Linked DNA regions of Homo sapiens: region 1 is linked to region 2. Evidence: promoter capture Hi-C in 16 types of primary human blood cells and fetal thymus (Javierre and others, 2016). All regions are on one chromosome and are shown on one strand. The core of a region is centred on a gene start or on the middle of the fragment in contact, and the rest is flanking DNA. Distances in the headings are between cores, read along the strand shown. Region 1 holds the start of DPRX (divergent-paired related homeobox). Region 2 holds the start of NLRP9 (NLR family pyrin domain containing 9).

Evidence for each region. Contacts are between HindIII fragments. The CHiCAGO score rates a contact against its expected background, and 5 or more counts as called.
Region 1: the fragment with the promoter of DPRX here is called in contact with the fragment with the promoter of NLRP9 in region 2 in 1 of 17 cell types (monocytes); the score reaches 5.8 in monocytes.

Annotation. Positions count from the first base shown.
Region 1 is chr19:53,630,008-53,635,643 of GRCh38, forward strand. DPRX (divergent-paired related homeobox) reads left to right here and starts at 1,992. Exons shown (of 3, transcript NM_001012728.2): 1 at 1,992-2,127; 2 at 4,524-4,678. The coding sequence starts at 2,100. It also overlaps the pseudogene RN7SL317P. The HindIII fragment of the contact is 17,175 bases long and covers 1-4,889 here.
Region 2 is chr19:55,735,801-55,741,326 of GRCh38, forward strand. It overlaps NLRP9 (NLR family pyrin domain containing 9), which reads right to left and starts at 2,602. Exons shown (of 9, transcript NM_176820.4): 1 at 2,295-2,602. The coding sequence starts at 2,574. It also overlaps the pseudogene RN7SKP109. The HindIII fragment of the contact is 10,494 bases long and covers 1-2,679 here.

The DNA of each region.
Region 1 (5,636 bases), core at 742-3,241, 2.1 Mb before region 2:
ACCAGTCTGGCCAACATGGTGAAACCCTGTCTCTACTAAAAATACAAAAAAAAAAATTAGCTGGGCATGGTGGCATGTGCCTATAATCCCAGCTATTTGGGAGGCTGAGGCAGGAGAGTTGCTTGAACCCAGGAGGCAGAGGTTGCAGTGAGCCGGGATCACGCCACTGCACTCTAACCTGGGCGACAGAGTGAGACTCCATCTCAAAAAAAAAAAAAAAAACTTTCATGCTGATCAGTAGTGGAATCAGCTTGTGAATTGCCCTCCAGCCTGAGCAACACAGACTGCCTCTTACTAATCCCAGCACTTTGGGAGGCTGAGGTGGGAGGATGGCTTGTGCCTAAGACTTTGAGACTAGCCTAGCCAAAATCCCTTCTCTACAAAAAATGCAAAAATTAGCTGGGTATGGTAGTGTGCACCTGTAGTCCCAGTTACTCAGGAGGCTTAGGTGAGAGGCTCACCTAGGCCCAGGAGGTTAAGGCTGCATTGAGCTATGATTTTGCCACTGCACTCCAGGCTGGGCCTAGGCCTTTGTAGTCACAGCTACTTGGGGGCAAATGTAGGAGGATCACTTGAGCCCAGTAGGTCGAGGCTGCAGTCAGCTGTGTTTTTTGAGACATAGCAAGACCCTGTCTCAAAAAGAAAAAAAAAAGTAGCTACAAGCTCATTTATGCAAAGGCTAACCACTGTCACAAGTAGAGATGTGCAGAACTGAGATTCAAATGGATGGAATGGCAAGAAAAACTGCCACTTCTGTGAACCTGAAGTCAAACTGCCCTTGTCGTCAAGATAAAAGGTATACATGGTGTGAGCCTGGGCATCTGAAAGGTGTTGCAGCTTTTTCTTTTATTTTTTTGAGATGGAGTCTCACTCCTGTCACCCAGGCTGGAGTGCAGTGGTGCGATCTCAGCTCACTGCAACCTCTGCCTCCTGGGTTCAAGCAATTCTCCTGCCTCAGCCTCCTGAGTAGCTGGGATTACAGGTGCCCACCACCACACCCAGCTAATTTTCGTATTTTTAGTAGAGATGGGGTTTCGCCATGTTGGCCAGGCTGGTCTCGAACTCCTGACCTCAGGTGATCCGCCTGCCTCAGCCTCCCAAAGTGCTGGGATTACAGGTGTGAGCCACCTGTAATTAGCCAGGCTTGGTGGTGGGTGCCTGTAATCCCAGCTACTGGGAAGGCTGAGGCAGGAGAATTGCTTGAACCTGAGAGGCGGAGGTTGCTGTGAGCCGAGATCGTGCCACTGCACTCCAGCCTGGGTGACAGAGTGAGACTCCATCTCTAAATAAATAAATAAATAAATAAAATGAGATGATTTCTGAGTGAGTTAACTAAATCAGGATATGCAGAACAATGCCAAGCATATATTAGCCACTAAAGAATATATAAGTTGCCTGAAAGCCCCTTTAGGGTTTAAACCTGGACTTCATTATTCACAATCACATTCCCGGTCCCCATTACGGAGCCTGGTCACCTGGGTGCTTGTTAGATATGGAAATCATCAGATCCCACCCCAGACCGAGTCAGAAACGTTGAGGGCAGGAGTTCAAGACCAGCCTGGCCAACATGGCGGAAACTCCGTCTCTACTAAAAATACAAAAATTAGTCAGGAGTGGTGGCACAGGCCTGTGATCTCAGCTACTCGGGAGGCTGAGACATGAGAATCCCTTGAACCTGGGAGGCAGAGGCTGCAGTGAGCCAAGATGGTGTCATTGCGCTCCAGCCTGGGTGACAGAGTGGGACTCTGTCTCAAAGAAAAAGAAAAAAAGAAAAGAAATTGCAGCTTCTGCTCAGGAAGTCTGGAGTGGGCCAGGATTCTGCATTTTAACAACTCCCAGGAGTGTTAGTGGGGCTGGTTTGTGGACTCGCCTTTGAGTCGTTGGTCTCCGCTCAATCAATATTAGATAAAATGACAGTATTGGGAGAAATCCAGGGGGCTCTGGAGGACCGAGGGATCATATTGGAGGCAGATAGGGCAGAGAAAGGTGGAGGAGGTGGGAGTCGGGTGTGGCTGTGGAGGAAGCTACTTAAATCCGGATTTGATCTTTGCTAGTTCTTATCCCTGGACCTGAACCCAGGCGCACATCTGGATTAGAAGATGCCAGGCTCAGAGGATCTTCGTAAAGGTAAGCCAGAAAAAATGAGAACCGAAGCAAAGACACGTGAAGAAGTGGAAAGCAGCTGGCGGCGGGAAAAGGCAGAGGGACCAGGCGGCCGAAGCTGGTGCTTCGTCCACGTGGGTGGCAGGGACTTCCCACAGAGGCTGTCATCGTTTTTGTTGTTGTTGTTTTGTTTTGTTTTGTTTGTCTTTTGAGACAGTCTCACTCTGTCGCTCAGGCTGGAGTGCAGTGGCACGATTTCGGCTCACTGCAACCTCCACCTCCCAGGTTCAAGCAATTCTCCTGCCTCAGCCTCCCGAGTAGCTGGGATGACAGGCACACGCCACCACACCTGGCTAATTTTTTTTTTTTTTGTATTTTTAGTAGAGCCGGGGGTTTCACCATATTGACCAGGCTGGTCTCGAACTCCTGACCTTGTGATCCGTCTGGCTCAGCCTCCCAAAGTGCTGGGGTGACAGGCGTGAGCCACTGCACCCGGCCCAAGTTTTGTATCTTTATAGAGATGGGGTTTCACCATGTTAGCTAGGTTGGTCTCAAGCCCCTGACCTCATGTGATTGGCTGGCCTCGGCCTCCCAAAGTGCTGGGATTACAGGCATGAGCCTCGGTGCCCGGCCGCGGCTGTCATCTGACAGCACAGGCAAATGCAGGGAAGCCTGTTTCTGCCTTCAAATCCGAAATCTTCTCCCTCGTAGTTGTGTCCTAATTCTTCCCACCCCGATGCTTGTTCTTGAGCACAGGGGAATCTGATTCCTATGAGGATGATTAGGTCCTAGATAGAATATAGGCTTAGCCAAGCTGGAAATCTCATGTTCATGAGCACTTACTAGACTCTGGAGCTGCTGCCAAACCATTTTCAGGCATGATGCGATTCAGATCTTTTAGAGCGAGGCATGCGGTGGCTCATGCCTGTAATCCCAGCACTTTGGGAGGCCGAGGTGGGCAGATCGCTTCAGCCCAGGAGTTCAAGACCAGCCTGGGCAACAAAACAAGACGTTGTCTCTACAAAAAATACAAAAATTAGCCGGGCATGTCAGTGTTGTGTAGTTCCAGCTACTCGGGAGGCTGAGGTGAGAGGATCGCTTGAGCCTGGGGAGGTTGAGGCTGAAGTGAGCTGTGATCATGCCACTGGGCAACACAGCAGTACACTGTCTCAAGAAAAAGAAAGTAAAAGGTGACATCCGTGACAGCAGTGATGTTATTTTTCTGCTTATTTCCTTGCTATATTCCTAAAAGAATATACTTAATGAACATTGAATAAATGATAAGAATAAAACCATGTCCATCCATTTCACCTTGGATTGAGTTGCCTATTTCTACACAAAGAAAATAGAACCCAAGAGGTAAGGCACAAGCGATCCCTTATTTACGTATTTATTTATTTATTTATTTATTATTTTCTTGAGACAGGGTCTCCCTCTGTCTCAGGCTGGAGTGCAGTGGCATAATCTCGGCTCACCACAGCCTCTGCCTCTGAGGTTCAAGCGATTCTCCTGCCTCAGCCTCCCGAGTAGCTGGGACTACAGGCGTGCACCATCACGCCCAGCTAATTTTTGTACTTTTAGTAGAGACAGGGTTTCACCATGTTAGCCAGAATGGTCTTGATCTCTTGACCTCATGATCCGCCCGCCTTGGCCTCCCAAAGTGCTGGGATTACAGGCATGAGCCACTGTGCCCGGCCAAATTTTTGTGTTTTTAATAGAGATGGGGTTTCACCATGCTGGCCAGGCTGGTCTCAAACTCATGACCTGATATGATCTGCCCGCCCTGGCCTCCCAAAGTGCTGGGATTACAGGCGTGAGCAAGGGATCCCATATTTAAATGATAACAGAAAAAAAGGATGGAGGAACCAAGGGGGAAAGGAACAACCTTTTCCTATGAAAATGACAAATGAGGCTTGGAAAAACAAGGACAAAAGGCAGATCAAGTTGTCCTCCCGCTTCAGCCTCCCACAGTACTGGGACTGCAGCCTGAGGCACGACCCCGGCCAGCAGTGTCTCCATATCTAAGAACCTCAGTCACGGCCGGGCACAGTGGCTCACGCATGTAATCCCAACACTTTGGGAGGCCGAGGCGGGTGGATCACCTGAGGTCAGGAGTTCGAGACCAGCCTAGCCAACATGGTGAAACCCTGTCTCTGCTAGAAATACAAAAATTATCCGGGCATGGTGGCGTGCGCCTGTAATCCCAGCTACTCGGGAGGCTGAGGCAGGAGAATCGCTTGAACTCAGGAGGTGGAGGTTGCAGTGAGCTGAGATTGTGCCACTGCACTCCAGCCTCGGTGACAGAACCTCAGTCACTTGATCATCACGTTGTACCTCAGTGGAAAGGAAAGGAAAGCTCAGGCTTTTGAGAATGGAGTTGTTAGCATTTCCCATTTGTGTCTTTTTCCTCCTCTTTCAAGGCAAGGACCAGATGCATTCACACAGGAAACGAACCATGTTCACTAAGAAGCAACTGGAAGATCTGAACATCTTGTTCAATGAGAACCCATACCCAAACCCCAGCCTTCAGAAAGAAATGGCCTCGAAAATAGACATACACCCAACAGTACTGCAGGTTGGAAAATGATCCCTCTTCTCACTAAACTGCCTTCCTGATCTAATCTAAATTCAGAGTCCCTCTAGGATAATTCCTGAGGTCTCATTCCAATCGCCAATATTCCCCAAACCCACACTCTCCTACTCACGTCCCCGTAAACCTTTCTTCAACCCCCTAGAGCAAGAATGGGAAAATTTTTCCAGTAAAGGACCAGGTAGTAAATAATTGAAGCTTTGTGGGCCATACCGTCTCTCTAGCAACTATTTTAACTATGCCACCACAGTGCGAAGGCAGCCACAGACAACGTAAACAAGAGGCCCATCTGTGTTCCCAGAAACTCTTTTACTCAGGTTGGAGCACGGTGGTGCAATCACAGCTCACTGCAGCCTCGACCTCCCGGGCTCAAGCAATCCTACCACCTCAGCACCCCAAGTAGCTGGGACTACAGGTCTACAGGTGCACACTACGCCTCCCAAAGTGTTGGGATTACAAGCATGAGCCCGGCTGTATTTTATTTTTTGTAGAGATGGGGTTTCGCTATATTGCCCAGGAGGCTGATCTTGAACTCCTGGTCTCAAGTGATTCACCTGCCTTGGCCTCCCAAAGTGTCAGGATTATAGGCATAAGCCACTGCGCCTGGCCTGAAGTTTATACAATTTTCACATTACAAAATAGTGTTGTTTTGTTTTGTTTTAAGACAGGGTGTTGCTCTTGCCCACATTGGAGTGCAGTGGCACGATCATAGCTCACTGCAGCTTTGAATTCCTGGGCTGAAGCCATCCTCCCACTCAGATTCCCAAGTAGGTGGGACTACAGGTGTGTGGTACTACAGCCTCCCGAGCAGCTGATACTACTGGTGTGTACCACCAGGCCCAGCCAATTTGTGTGTTTTTTGTAGAGATGGGGTTTCGTCATGTTGCCCAGGCTGGACTCAAACTCCTGAAATCAAGTGATCCACCCACCTCAGCCTCCCAGA
Region 2 (5,526 bases), core at 1,352-3,851:
CCTCAGCCTCCCGAGTAGCTGGGATTACAGGCGTGCACCACCACGCCTGGGTAATTTTTGTATTTTTAGTAGATAGAGTGTCTCACCATGTTGGCCAGGCTGGTCTCGAACTCCTGACCTTAGGTGATCCGCCCACCTCAGCCTCCCAAAGTGCTGGGATTACGGGTGTGAGCCACCACGCCTGGCAAAACCCTATGCTATTTAATTGAATGGATTTATCATTATATTATTCACTTTCTATATTTGCCCATAGTAAACATTTGCTGACCTCCAAGGTTTTTTTTTGAGACAAAATTCATAAGCAAGGTTATTTAAAACTGATGATTCACGCCTGTAATCCCAGCACTTTGGGAGGCTGAGGTGGGTGGATCATGAGGTCAGGAGATCGAGACCATCCTGGCTAACACGGTGAGACCCCATCTCTACTAAAAATACAAAAAATTATCTGGGCGTGGTGGCAGGCGCCTGTAGTCCCAGCTACCTGGGAGGCTGAGGCAGGAGAATGGTGGGAACCCGGGAGGCAGAGCTTGCAGTGAGCTGAGATCGCGCCACTGCACTCCAGCCTGGGCGACAGAGCGAGACTCCGTCTCAAAAAAGAAAAAAGTCATGTCATGTCTTAGAGATTTTTATAACATTTAGGACCTCAGTGTCCCAAGTGAGAAACTCTCAGTTCAGACACTGACTCGGTCATTTTTTCATCTGCCAACATAGAACATTAATCAGCAGAAAAGTCAAAGACACGAACCACACAGATAAAGAAAACTGGCACACACCTGTAATCACAGCACTTTGGGAAGCCCAGGCAGGAGGATCATCTGAGGTCAGGAGTTTGAGACCAGCCTGACCAACATGGTGATACCCCGTCTCTACTAAAAATACAAAAATTAGCTGGGCGTGGTGGTGCATGCCTGTAATCCCAGCTACTCGGGAAGCTGAGGAAGGAGAATCGCTTGAACCTGGGAGGCAGAAGTTGCAGTGAACCGAGATCATGTCACTGCCCTCCAACCTGGGCAACAGAGCAAGACTCCGTCTCAAAAAAATAAAACAAAAACAAAAAAAAAAACAAAAAACTAACACAGCAAGCAACTCCAAACCAAATAAAATACCCTCAAGCATGTGGGGATACGAAATAAGGTCTCAAATTAGAATTACCAACACAAAGAAGAAACATGAACAAAACAGAAGTAAACGTAACAGAAGTTGATGGAACTCAAAAGTAAAGGGAGAAGATAACAATCATCAGAAACAAATGCTAATTACTAGATACCTAATAGGGAATATATTTAGTTTTTCCTAAGTATCCCCCGAGAGGAGGGTGTAGACCCCATCAATGAGTCCAGCAGAACTGGTTCGGAGTCAGATCTGTCACTTTTGGAAAAGTCATGTAACACATGGGAACACTGTTTTGTCCAGTTTTCTCACTTGTAAACCTTTCCTGGGTTGTGATAAGAATGAAAAGACATTATGCAGAAAGAATGCTTCCAGGACGTGAGGACAACCTGGCTGTGATGTCTGTCACCCCATTGGTCGCCCCAGGGCTAATTCGGCTGATGTGGCCAGCTGGGTGGGTGTCCACTTCCTCCCTCACTGCTCCATATGCGTCCGTCCTGAAAGTCTCCCCTGGGTCAAAGACGATGACAACCTTTGCCCATAGAGGAAGGTCCTTCCATCGCGGGCAGAAGAGAAGCTGTGCTCCCCTACTAGAACCTCCAAACAAGCTCGCAAGAATGCTTCCTGTAGTACCCGGGACATACGCTGTCTGATTGTCTTAAGATTCTACCTACTCCTTGGTACATGTCTGGTCAAAAAGGACAGGCAGTTAGGCATGGTGGCTCACTCCTGTAATCACAGCACTTTGGGATGCCTAGGCAGGTGGATCACTTGAGCCTGGGAGTTCAAGACCAGCCTGAGCAACATGGCAAGACCCTTTCTCTAAAAAAAAAAAAAAAAAAAAAAAAAAGATAGGCAACTACCATACTAGAATTCCATCTCAGTAGACCTGGCAATGCAGACACTAACTGGCCACTCATCTCCTATAACAACGACTCCACTTGGGGTGGAAAAATGGGAAGACACTCCATAGGTGAACAGTTGGTATCAGGACGCCATCTGTCCCCAGTTCATCGCTGGCCCACATATGAACAGCCCTGGCCTGCAACTCTTCCTACCTTCAACTCTCACCTTGACCCACACACATTCTCATCTGATGGAGGGGGTGGCCACTCATTTAACAATGCTATCACCTTGTTCCCAGGCTTCCCCCATGGGTCCTCGCCCCATCATCCAGCACTTACTTCTCATCTCTTCCTGAGCCTTTGTCCAGAGATCTTTCCTATTGATCTGTAGAAACAGGTTCAGTGTTACCTCCCATGCCTGCTTTCCTGGGTAATGTTTGTCCAGCAGCTTTGCTACATCTTCTTTGGAGGCCTTCTTCAGCTCAGCCCAGGGGATTGGCTTGAGTTCAAATTTCTCCAAAGGTTGTTTGAGGAGCTCCTTAAATTTCCAAAACTCTTCCTTTCTGAGCTCCTTCAGATACCACAACAAGCCAAAATCCGAAAAAAAAGATTCTGCCATATCGCCCCAGGATTGTGAACTGAGGTGTCTCCAGAGGGAAAAGAAAGATCCTCAAAAATAAAGAATAAATGATACCTGGAGAAGAATGACATGATTACAGAGTTAAGCTTCAGCAGCTGAAAGCAGCTCAAAATTATTGATATCATCATGCGTAGCTTGCACCAAACATCATCTAGGGAAGAAGCTTCATCTTTTTCCAAACAAATGCATGTGAATGGTAGAGTTGACTGCCACTTATGTGTCTTGTTTTTGTCTGACATAAATGATGCTTCCAGGAACAAGTGTTTTTGTGTAGTTTGGTGTATATAAGCACACATTTCTCTAGATTTATAAATTATAGGTCAAACAGCAAACACAGGTCACCATGTTTGCTACATAACACTCAACGGTTTTCCCTTGTGTATATAATTACTGACATTCCTACCAGCATTCTATGAGTTTGTTTGCTCTGTAGACCTTCCCATCCTTAGTATAGTCTAATCCAATTTTGATAATGAAAAAATGAACGGATATTAAAATTACAGATGATCACATTCAGGAAGATGAAAATAAAGGAAGAGGACATAAAAGCAAATTTAAATTTTTTTTTATCGTTTAGTGGTATATGCCTTCTTTTTTTTTTTTTTTTTTGAGACAGAGTCTCGCTCTGATGCCCAGGCTGGAGTGCAGTAGCGCAATCTCGGCTCACTGCAAGCTCTGCCTCCCGGGTTCACGTCATTCTCCTGCCTCAGCCTCCTGAGTAGCTGGGACTACAGGTGCCTGCCACCACACCCGGCTAATTTTTTTGTATTTTTAGTAGAGATGGGGTTTTACTGTGTTCGCCAGGATGGTCTCGATCTCCTGACCTCGTGATCCACCCGCCTCGGCCTCCCAAAGTGCTGGGATTACAGGCATGAGCCACCGTGCCCGGCCGGTATATGCCTTCTTATTACAGTATATAAGGAAAAAGTTAGATTTACTATAGGTTAGCATCTGCAGACAACTCAGACAGAAACAGAGCAGTGAACGTTCCCAGTATTATAAACCCTTCAGATAATCATTGCAATTCAACAAAAGACAGGAAATGAAGTAGAAATATATGGTAGACAAAATAAGACAGGTGGCAAAAATAATACCAAATATATATAGATATGTATTTTGAGATAGAGTTTCACTCTTGTTGCCCAGACTAGAATGCAATGGTATGACCTCAGCTCACTGCAACCTCTGCCTCCCAGGTTCAAATGATTCTCCTGCCTCGTCCTCCCAAGTAGCTGGGATTACAGGCACCTGCCACCATGCCCGGCTAATTTTTTTTTTTTGTATTTTTAGTAGAGATGGGGTTTCACCATGTTGGCCAGGCTGGTCTCGAACTCCTGACCTCAGGTGATCCACCTGCCTCAGCCTCCCAAAGTGCTGGGATTATAGGCTTGAGCCACTGCGCCCAGCCTAAATATAATCTTAACACATATGAATGAAATAAAATTGCTCACTAATATATAGACTCACATTGGATAAATACAAATCCTGCTATATGCTGTTTATAAGAGAATCCTAGAAAATACACAGAGAAGTAAAACAGAAGAAGAAAAAGCCTGGCAAATTCTTACCCAAAAAAGTATTAATAGTATAAAATATCAGCATTGAAAAACACTCAAGCTAGAAAGCACTAAATGGACTAAGAATTTTTGAACACCAAGATTCAGTTCCCCAAGATCTAGAACTCATGAGCATATGTGCACCTGGGAATACCACTTTACACATAAGGAGATGATGACAAACGCAATATCATTGTATCTGAGCTAATATACCTTTCAGATAATTACAAACCATTAGCAAAGGTTACATACCATCTATGGTCACATGCAAAAGAATAAACTTGGACCCTTAATACCATAAACAAAAATTAATGCAAAATGGATTGAAGAAGATCTAAATGGAAGGCCCAAAGTATAAAACTCCTAGGAGAAAATGTAGGGCAGAAGCTTCCAGACACAGATTTGGTCTGGATTATTTCTTGAATATGACATGACACAGACAAAAGAAAAAAATAGACAAACTGGACTTTATAAAAATTTTAAAATTTTGTGCATCAAAAGACAGTATCAGCCAGGTGCGGTGGTTCATGCCTGTAATCCCAGCACTTTGGGAGGCCGCAGCAGGTGGATCACTTGAGGCCAGGAGTTTGAGACCCATGGCCCACATGGTGAAACCCTGTCCCTACTAAAAATACAAAAATTAGCCAGGCGTGGTGGCAGACACCTGTAATCCCAGCTGCTCGGGAGGCGGAGGCTGCAGCAAGCTGAGATCACACCGCTACACTCCAGCCTGGGTGACAGAGCGAGACTCTGTCTCAAAAACAAAGACGATATCAAAAGAGTAAAAAGTCAACCAACAGAATGGGAGAAAATATTTGCAAAGCATGTATCTCACAGGGATTAAAATCCAGATTACAGGGAATGCCTAAAACTCAATAACAAAACAATCTTATAACAATGAGAAAAGGACTAGAATAGACATTTCTCCAAAGATATACAAATGGTCCATAGCCAATAAGCACATAAAAAGAGGCTCAACGTCACTAACCATTAGGGAAATACAGATCACAACTACAATGAGATAATCCTTCACATCCACTAAGATGGTAACTACAAAAAAAAAAAAATTCAAAACAAGTGTTGATGAGAAGGTAGAGAAACTGGAACCCTTGTATCCTAGTGACGTATAAATGTTAAATGGTTCAGCCACTGTGGAAAACTGTATCATATTTCCTGAAAAAATAAGAACAGAATTACTGTAGGATCCAGCAACCCCAAAGAATTGAAAGCAGACTCTCTCAGAGTTATCCGGACACTCATGTTAATAGGAGCATCAGTGACCCAAGTGTTCATCAACAGATGAATGGAAAAGTGAAATGCAGTCTATAAATACAGTATTATACAGCCTTAAAAAGGAAGGATGCTGGGCCCGGTG